2 separate regions of the Homo sapiens genome follow, and region 2 is linked to region 1. The links are contacts of gene promoters, found by promoter capture Hi-C in blood cells and fetal thymus (Javierre and others, 2016). All regions are on one chromosome and are shown on one strand. The core of a region is centred on a gene start or on the middle of the fragment in contact, and the rest is flanking DNA. Distances in the headings are between cores, read along the strand shown. Region 1 holds the start of MRPS9-AS1 (MRPS9 antisense RNA 1). Region 2 overlaps TGFBRAP1 (transforming growth factor beta receptor associated protein 1).

Region 1 (4,817 bases), core at 2,079-4,578:
TCTGGGCAGCATGCATATTAATGGTTCCTAAAGGCTTCTCTTTTTATGCTGCAGCTGGACTACTTACTACTGATCCACGTGTGAGGGAACGGAAGAAGCCAGGCCAAGAGGGAGCCCGCAGAAAGTTTACGTGGAAGAAACGCTAAGGGTTTGCTCCCAGGAAAGGAGAGGAAGAGCTATATATATGTGCCGACATGTGGCAGACACACAGTAAATAATGGCTGACCAGCATGAGGGCAGTACTGTCAGAAATTTCTTTGAGCTGTGAGATGGATTTATTTTTAAATGCTACTTTGTAAAGGTGACCTTTAAAAAATAAAAGGAAAATAAAGAATGTTAGTTTCATTCTGCCGCTTTATTTTTTTAACTTTTTCAGAATATAGTTTTAAGAAGCATAATTCATAGAATCTGGCATATTAGACCTGAAAGGAATATTCAGCAAAATATAGTCAAGTTACCTCATTTTGCAGACAAGAAGGCTTAGCCCCCCAGATTAAGCAACCAACCAGAGCCATACTGTTGGTACTTTCAATGCTAGAGCTAGACTCATTTCCCCTGATTCTGTTGCTTCCCCACTTGGCAATTGTCACCACGTATTTTTCAAAATGAGAAGTGAGAGTGCTTGCTCAGAAGAATGAAGTAACTTGAGTCGGTCAGGAGCTCAGCAGAGCCAGGGAGCTGAGCTGCCAGGTGTGGGAGGTGCTGGTATACACAACAGCCAAGTGAAAGGCACAGTCAAGCCTGTCTGTGCTCACTCGCTGCAGGAATACGAGCAAGGCTGCGGCAAAGAAGGCACCCCTGCCCCCTATTTTGGATCAGTTTTGTTTTGGGGGTATTTAAAAATCTTTTTATTGTGTATTTTTAAGGTATGCATCAGGATGTTTTGATATACATTTACAGAGTGAAGTGATTACTGCAGTCAAGCAAATCAGCGTAGCTCTCATATAGTTTCCCAGGTGTGGGTGTGTGGAAAGAGCATCTAAGGTCTCTTCTCATTTCCAGCATACAATACAGTATGATTCACTGTTGTCCTCATGTTGTACGTTAGGTCTCTAGACTTACTCATCCTATGTAACTGCAGCTTCGTACCTTTTGACCTGCATCTCACGTTCCTCCACCCCCTACCCCCAGTGATTACATTCTACTCTGTGCTTCTATACATTTGACTTTTAAGACCCCACAGCTAAGTGAGATCTTGCACTACTTATCTTTCTGTTCCTGGCTTACTTCATAGTATCCTCTAGGTTCATCCACGTTGTGGCAAATGGCAGGATCTCCTTTTTCAAGGTTGAATAATATTCCATTGTGTTTATATATGCCACAGTTTCTTTATTGAAACAATTGTGGATTCCATTTTGGATCAGCACAGATATGGAGAAAAGTGGCTTCAAGCTTCCCTTCCCCAGGAAGTCTCAGCTGAGGAGCCTGAGGGAGGACTTGCATGAAAGGAACAGATCCCTCTGAATGAAGGCACCCAGCCAGGAGTGCACATAGCTCTGGAAGAGCACGGGCTGCGGGGAGGTGGGCTGAGTCCTTGACTGTGGCCCCCAGGACCTGTCATGCACTGGCTGTGCACAAGTCAGGTGTGGGGAGTGTAGCTTGCCCCCGTGAGGCCCACCAGGCAGTCTTTATGATTGACCATGGTTTGGCATGAAAGATCACACATAGGTGTTTGGCCAGGAGTGAGACTCTTCAGTCATAGCTAAGCGTTCAATTGAGTTTTGCTCTAGGATTTCTAAAGTACCTTAAAATGAAGAAACTTTGGCATTTTAACTCTAATGCAATTGTGCAGTAGGTTTTTGAGGGAGGAAAGGGGCAGTTGGTAACAGGGGTACTTTAAAACCCATTTTAAGCCAGGTGTGGTGGCTCACGCCTGTAATCCCAGCACTTTGGGAGGCTGAGGCAGGTGGATCACTTGAGGCCAGGAGTTTGAGACCAGCCTGGCCAACATGGTGAAACCCCATCTCTACCAAAAAATACAAAAATTAGCCGGGTGTGGTGGCATGCGCCAATAGTGCCAGCTACTCGGGAGGCTGAGGTGGGAGAATCGCTGGAACCCAGGAGGCAGAGGCTGCAGTAAGTCGAGATTGTGCCACTGCACTCCAGCCTGGGTAACAGTCAGATCCTGTCTCAAAAAAAAAAAAAAAAAATCCATTTCAATGCAGTTATTTTAAGTAAAAATATTGCTTCAAGAATTAGACCCTCAATGCTCAATTATCCTTTATATAAAGAGTTGTATGCCACTGATTTCTTCATAAGTGTCTTTTTAAAATAATCTTGAATAAGTTCTGAGACATGTATATACACATCAAATCCTTTATGAGGTAAAATAAAATAACATGGTGATGAACAAGTGAGAGTGAGTACCCAGTACCCTGCGGTACCCAGTGCCCTTTTCATTTCAGATGAAACTGTAGAAAATACTTTCTGGGGTTTTTTCTGTGTGGCGGTCATTCTCTAGTGAAATTGTCTGTGGCAGGTTTTGGTCGGTGGTGTTGATTTAGCCTGTATCTGTTGGAGTATACTTTTTACCATTTTGACAAGAGAGAAGTGACAAGTGGTTACCCCACGTGGCGTGGGTGTGCTGAGATGGGATGGCGGGCAGCCCTGCCGGCACGGATCGCCCGCTTGCTGAGCTCTTGCCATACCTGGTGTCCTGGGGCAGTGCAGAGCTGCCTGAAGTATATGCCATCTGGCCCTGCATCAGCTACTGTTGGTATCGTGGAGGAGACAAAGTCCTCAAGTCTAACGGGAGACCTGGAGTGCTGCTCGTACAGTGCCAGGAGGAGAGCTGAGGAAGGGGGCCCTGAGGACAGTAGCACTCTGAGGAGGAGGTGGTGGGGAAAAAAGAGGCCATGAAAGGAGAGGGTGGGAGTACAGATGGAGAAAATGGCGAGAAAGGAGGAAGGAAAGTTCAGGAAATGTGCAGGGAGTGAAGCCAGGCGGGCCAGGGCATTGCTGGGGAGGGACGAGGTCCCTGCGGAAACCAGCTGGGAAGGAGGCTGAGGTGGATTTGTGGAGGGTCTGAAATTCATGGTGATGTTCCTGCACTGCCAAAGGGGAATCAGCCTTTTTTTCTCCTTTGAGAGAACAGATGAGGGTTGAAATTAGAACTGTGTTTTTAAACTATATTTTAGCAACCTTTAAAATATATGTATATATATATTAAGTAGAGTCATAGTGCATAATATAACAACAAAATCGGAGCCTTAACTCTCACCTTCTTCTGGGCCTCAGGAACCCCGAGCTCATGGGAAAAGTCTTGAGGATCTCCCCATCAGGAAGGTCACGGAGGGACTGCAGGAGCAGGGAGTTGCTAGAAGGAAGAGACCTGCCAGGCAGCTATTGTACATGGAGGGGATGGGACCCAGTGCAGGGAACAGAAAGGAAGTAGGTGTGAGAAACGTTGCCACTCTCACCTGGACCAAGTGCGATAGCTGATTGGCTGCAGGAGAGCTGGGGGCGGGTATTCGGTATGAGATCCACAGGCTGCTGGGAATGCAAAGAGCCAGGAAGACAGGAAGAAAAGTTGATGGGAGGAGGAGGAGACACCAGAGGGGTCGGCTCGGGTTTCAGGTGTTCGGGGCCACCTCATATGAGATGCTTGAAATAATTGGACTGTGACTCAGGCGACGGGTCAGCCTGCTGACAGATTTGGGAGGCTGCTGCGTGGAAGGGGAATTTGAAACGTGGGCTGGATCAGCACGGAGGATTGGGCAGGGAGAAGGCCAAGGCTCAAGTGGAGAAACAGCCATCAAGTTTAAAGTAGGAAGGAGGGAAGAGCCAGCAAAGGGGGTGGTGAGCGGTGATAGGAAGACAGCAAGCCAGGCACAGCGGTCAGGGACGTCAGTGATGACCAAGAAGCGGCCTCCAGGAGAGGCGAATGTTACAGGTGCCTTTCCCCGTGAGGTCTGGAAGAAATACTGGCTTGTAACCTCGCAGGCCACTGTACCCCTTGAGTCTCAATTTCTTTGAGTCAAATTGGGGTCATTTTCTGCCCTACCAGCCCCATCTGCCCTTGTGTGACGATCAAGTAAGATAAGTGTAAAACCACCGGCCATCTGCTCCATTCCAGCTGTAATAGGAACTAGACTGTGGACAGTGTTGATGTGAGGCCTCCAGGGAAGAGGATTAAAGTATATCGGAGCTCTTGTTCCTTTGTTCAGGCTTGACACAGTCTCCTTTGTCACCAGGTTTGTTAACCACAGGAGCACTGAGCTTCTCAGACATCCCACACCTTTGTGGGAAATACCTGTTGGGAAGTATTTTTGACACACACTGTGTGCATACATTGGGAAGAGCTCTCTAGTGGCTATTTTTTTTTAATAGGCATTTGACAAGATTATTGCCTTAAGGCGACAGTGAGAGCTAATGCTTCTGTAGCTCCTATTCTGTTCCAGATACTGTTCTAAATACAAGTAACGCATTCGATCCTCTCAGCCAACCCTATGAGGTAGATATTGAGAAAATTAGTGCTCAGAGAGGTTCAATAACTTGCCCAAAGTCCTAGAGCTAGTGAGTGCCCAAGCCAGGTTGGAACCTAGAATCCCGGCTCCAGAGCCAGTGCTCTGAACCACTGTGGAAGAATACCAGGCGGGCTATGACGGCATGCAAGCCAGGCACACAGCCTGTGCTAAAACCGTCTGTGAAAGGAGAGAAGACTGCATTGGTACAGTCAGAAGACTTGATGGGAGAGGTGGATGTCAGCCAGATCCTAATGGATGGGTGTTGATTAGTAAGCACTATACTATGCTCTCCAACCAAGCTAGAACCCTCATCTTATTCAGGAAGGCGATGTCATAACCACTCCATCAAGC
Region 2 (4,386 bases), core at 489-2,988, 160 kb after region 1:
CAACGCAGCCTGAGTGACATCCCTACATTAATACTTGATAGGGAACAGCAGATAAACAGTTCCAAAAACCAAATGGTATTGCCCATAGAATATGAATGTAAACTGAGTTCAGTTCATGCTGTTTTAACCAGAATGGTTCCACTGAACCTAATGAGGGGAAAAAGGTCTGATGGATCTAATTGCTCTATTCGATGGCACAGTTACAAATCAGCAGGCCTGTGAGAAAGAACCATACATTTCTCTCAGAAATATGATTTGAGAAAAGGGCCTTGTAGGAGTGAGAGAAAGGTTAGAGAAAAGTACAGTTTTAACATATGAGACAATTCTTCATACTGTAATAGAATGCTGCTTGTGGTGAAGGATTTGGTAGAGATGGAAAACTGCTCAACTTTAATTCCCATTATTCTAAAGGATGACAAACATTTTAGAGTATTGATCAATGTTCAGTGAAAAAATAAAAATGACTAGTGTTGGCTGGGCGCAGTGGCTCACGCCTGTAATCCCAGCACTTTGGGAGGCCGAGGCAGGCAGATCACGAGGTCAGGAGACCGAGACCATCCTGGCCAACATGGTGAAACCCCGTCTCTACTAAAAATACAAAAATTAGCTGGGCGTGGTGGCATGCACCTGTAGTCCCAGCTACTCGGGAGGCTGAGGCAGCAGAATCGCTTGAACCCAGGAGGTGGAGGTTGCAGTGAGCCGAGATTGCGCCACTGCACTCCAGCCTGGGTGACAGAGTGAGACTCTGTCTGTGTGTTAGGAATGAGAAATTACTAAGTTTTTTCAAGATTTTACCCATTTTGTGTACAGAGAAATAAGCTTTTAATGGCGCAATGTTGCATATACGGGTAACTTGTTCTTTGAGAAATATAAACTCAAACTCACAAGTTGTCATGATAACATATGCAGTAATATGACCATTCTACAACAGAGTCACCCACAGGTAAAACACATGACTGGGCTTTGAGCTCACACCAATTTACACAGCATACAGTTGTGCTACAAGGAGAATTTCTTCATCATTTATTCTTTAGTTAATTGAAACATAGTCAGGAAAAAATGGTGCCAATTCCCCCCAAACAACACATGGATGTTTTTGCTTCTTGACCCACTTAGAGTCCCAAAAGGACAAAAAATACATGGACCAATATTAGTTCACGAAACATGTTTTAAAGAACAGAGAATGAGGTCTTCATCCCACCTCAGTAAGGCTTGGGCTGATGAAGAGAGGGTGTATTCAGGGTCCTCTCTTGTCATATGTACAAGCTGACGCTTGTTTCCCAAGCATGATAGTAGTGGGTAGACTGCCTTTATTGTTAGCCCCTAATAGAATCAGTCAGCACAATGAAGAAATTCCAAAGAGGGCAGTGAAGTGACAACAGCTTCAGCTCGTCATCGATGTTATACAGAAACACAAAAGGAATCCCCGGCCTGTGATGAAGGAGAGGCCGTTGCTGTGTGTTCAGGACACCTCAGAGCAGGCACATAAAGTGCTGGAGGGTGACACAGCCTGTCTGGATGTCCTCGGGAGGGTGTGCCATCCAGGAGGCGACACCCCCATCCAGCACACGGGCCCTTCCACCCGCTGTCGGTCCTGCTAAAGGTACGAGGCTAAAACCGGCCTCTCCAGAAAAGAACGCTCAGTGTGTGCTGACCACACTTCCCTTTGAATTTCCCGAGTATTCAACAGGAGATACATTTTAACAAGAAAAAATACCCCTAACAAACAGGACAGATGACTCTCTCAACAAGAGAGCAACTACGAACATGATACAAATTTAAATAAAAATGTTTAGTTCAACGTGTTCGTCATGGAGTTTCAAATCAGCAGATGCCATGACAGGAAAGGAGCACACAGCTGGGCCCTTGCCCGCCGTGGGTTTCCCGTGTCCGCGGCTTCTTCAAGGAGGGGAGAGCAGCTTCTCTCTTGGAGCGTTCTCAGTTTCTCAACAGATCTTCACTTGCTAGGCAGCCAGAAGCATTAGTTCACCCAAGAGTGAGTGCTTGGGTACACAAGGCAGAATCTTTTGGGAGCTGAGAGCCGGAGAGGAAGAAAGAAGGAACAAAGGTACTTCTCCAGGGTCAGCCGTTTCTGAGGGCAAAGGCAGAGCCCACGAGGTAACCCTGGGAAATGGGCCCATGAGTGAGCGGCGTGGATGGAGAACGTGTTTCTGCAGGAGGGCAAGGCTGACCCCCATGAGGCTCTGTGCCCTCGCCACTCACCCAGGCAAGAGAGGACTTTGTCGCCAGCCATGGTGAAGCCACGTTTCCAGTGCAAACATGAGTCTAAAGGTTGGAGTGTGGGGGTGGTGGGGGATCCCCCACCTGGGTCTGGACTGCATGAGGAAGACTCCCTTTTTTTTTTTTTCAAAGTAGACCTCTGTCTTGGATTACTATGTACCTGGACAGGTGAACTCTTGTATGTTTCTGTTTTGGGGATTTTTAGGGGTTTTCCATGTACATTCATAGAGCCTGGTCATTCCATGTACATTCATAGAGCCTGGTCAGCAGCGAGGAGTCCTTGTTGCGTATGGACGGAAGGCTCCCTGGCACCCAGATGTCTCCCTTCGTCCTGGCTGACACAGAGCATGGTGGTCATCTGCTCTTCATGTCCAGCAGGCTCAGAAAGAACTCGGAGTTCCCCTCGCACCCTTGGGCCAAGCTTTTCAAGTCCGAGTGCCAGGACTGGATGAGCTGGGGTTTGTGTGTCTGCTGGCGGCACAGTGGGTGTGCACAAGACCACCATTTGGGTATCTAACAAACACAGGCTCACAAAAGGGATTTTGGCATATCTGACAAAGCTTTTTGTCTGAGAGTTGGATTGAGCTTCCTTTCAACTTCATCTGCAAGAAGAAACCAAGACTGAGAATGCTGTCATGTGTTAAGTATATTTAAAGTGGCTACGTTCTAGTTTTGCAGAGTTGACATGCATTACTCCATGGGTTATTATTATGATGAGGATTTCTTTAATATCAACTTCTTGAAATGAAATGCTAAAGGTGTAAATAAAACCATCCTTAGTAACTGGACAAGGAAGAAAGTTACACAATTGCTTTTCTTATTTCACAAAAGTAATTGTTGCTTGTCTGGCTGAGGCATTTCTACTTAAGATCCTCTCTCCAACATTCTCTGGCTCTGATCATTTCAAGCAAGGCCTGTTAGAAAGTCATGAATGTTAATGCTGAATGAGACCATATAATAGTGTAACTCCAGGGTTCTCTCATTTGCAAATAAGAAAAGTAAAGCACAAACAAATAAGGGATGTAGTCAAAGTTACACAGCTAACAAGTGGCATATTCCTGGTTGGTCCTGGGAGACACCCTTCCGTTTCCTTAGAGGTAACTGGTGAAACTGAGTCTTAATGCCATCGGTCCCTGTCTGATCAACAGGACTTGAGTTCTGAAAGTTATAAAGTTTTTCTACACAATTCACTCGTGTCAACCGAGGCAGGTTGGTCTATTGGCAGGATCAAGCAGCAACTTAGCGATTCATCCTGCACTCCTTAGTTGCATCAGTCATTCCACAAACACGGATTAGATGCCTTCGACATGGCAGGCTTAGCCCTACAGACACTGAGATAAAGAAATGAAGTTCCCTGTCCTCAAAGAACCCAAACTCTAATAGTAGCGGGTAACAGCTGTGAATGCGAACACCAAGTAAAAGTGGGTGAAAGAGAAGGTGATTACTCTACTTAAGAGGTATGAGATGGCTTCACCAAGGGAAAAAAATAAAGGCTAAATTTTGACTGGGCATTTGCTGGGGACAAAGAAAAAGGTAAGAATATCTCAGGCAGTGGGTACAGCATTTACAAAAGCAACAAAGTATGAAATACCAAATCACATCTGGAAGGTTGTGCTAAAGCCAGGACATGAGCTGGGAAGCAGAGAGAGGTGGGGAGGGATATGCTGAAGGAGGTGGGACTGCATCTTCCAGGACAGGGAGCGTCAGCAAAGGCTTCTAAGTGGGAGGGGAACACGTCGGATACCCGCTCTGGAAAGAAGACTCTGCCAGCCATGTGGAATTTAGGCCCACAAGAAAGAAGTCTCCCGAAGGTGAGTACAGTGTGGGGACGAAGAATGTGGGGTTCTCAACTGGCCTGGGAGGCAGCTCTGGGCACGCCCATTTCCTGAGCATGCGACTGCTCTCTGCCTCAATTTCCTCTCCTGTGAAATGGAGATGCTGACAGTAAATACTGCATAAAACTGTCATGATGACAAAATGCAAGCATGACGTAAAATGCCTAGGTCAGTGCCTGGCACACAGCACATGCTGGGTAAGCGCCTGATATTCTGATGCTGCTCTCCTCCCTACAGACTCTCTTAATCACCAGCGTCCAAAAGGGGAGAAAAACTACACCGATGTTACACCTACCAGCCCAGCCTCTGC

Evidence for each region. Contacts are between HindIII fragments. The CHiCAGO score rates a contact against its expected background, and 5 or more counts as called.
Region 2: a fragment that was not itself captured here is called in contact with the fragment with the promoter of MRPS9-AS1 in region 1 in 2 of 17 cell types (naive B cells and total B cells); the score reaches 5.4 in naive B cells.

The regions. Positions count from the first base shown.
Region 1 is chr2:105,099,616-105,104,432 of GRCh38, forward strand. MRPS9-AS1 (MRPS9 antisense RNA 1) reads right to left here and starts at 3,329. Exons shown (of 4, transcript NR_110227.1): 1 at 3,221-3,329. It overlaps LOC105373527 (a long non-coding RNA gene), which reads left to right and starts at 2,142. Exons shown (of 3, transcript XR_923138.3): 1 at 2,142-4,817. MRPS9 (mitochondrial ribosomal protein S9) reads left to right here. Exons shown (of 11, transcript NM_182640.3): 11 at 55-345. The coding sequence ends at 146. RefSeq lists enhancers at 3,885-4,746, 4,747-4,817. The HindIII fragment of the contact is 13,539 bases long and covers 1,391-4,817 here.
Region 2 is chr2:105,264,717-105,269,102 of GRCh38, forward strand. TGFBRAP1 (transforming growth factor beta receptor associated protein 1) reads right to left here. Exons shown (of 12, transcript NM_004257.6): 12 at 1-2,843. The coding sequence ends at 2,667. Among named protein-coding and RNA genes, the nearest start is that of GPR45, 25 kb to the left of the region's middle. The HindIII fragment of the contact is 1,843 bases long and covers 818-2,660 here.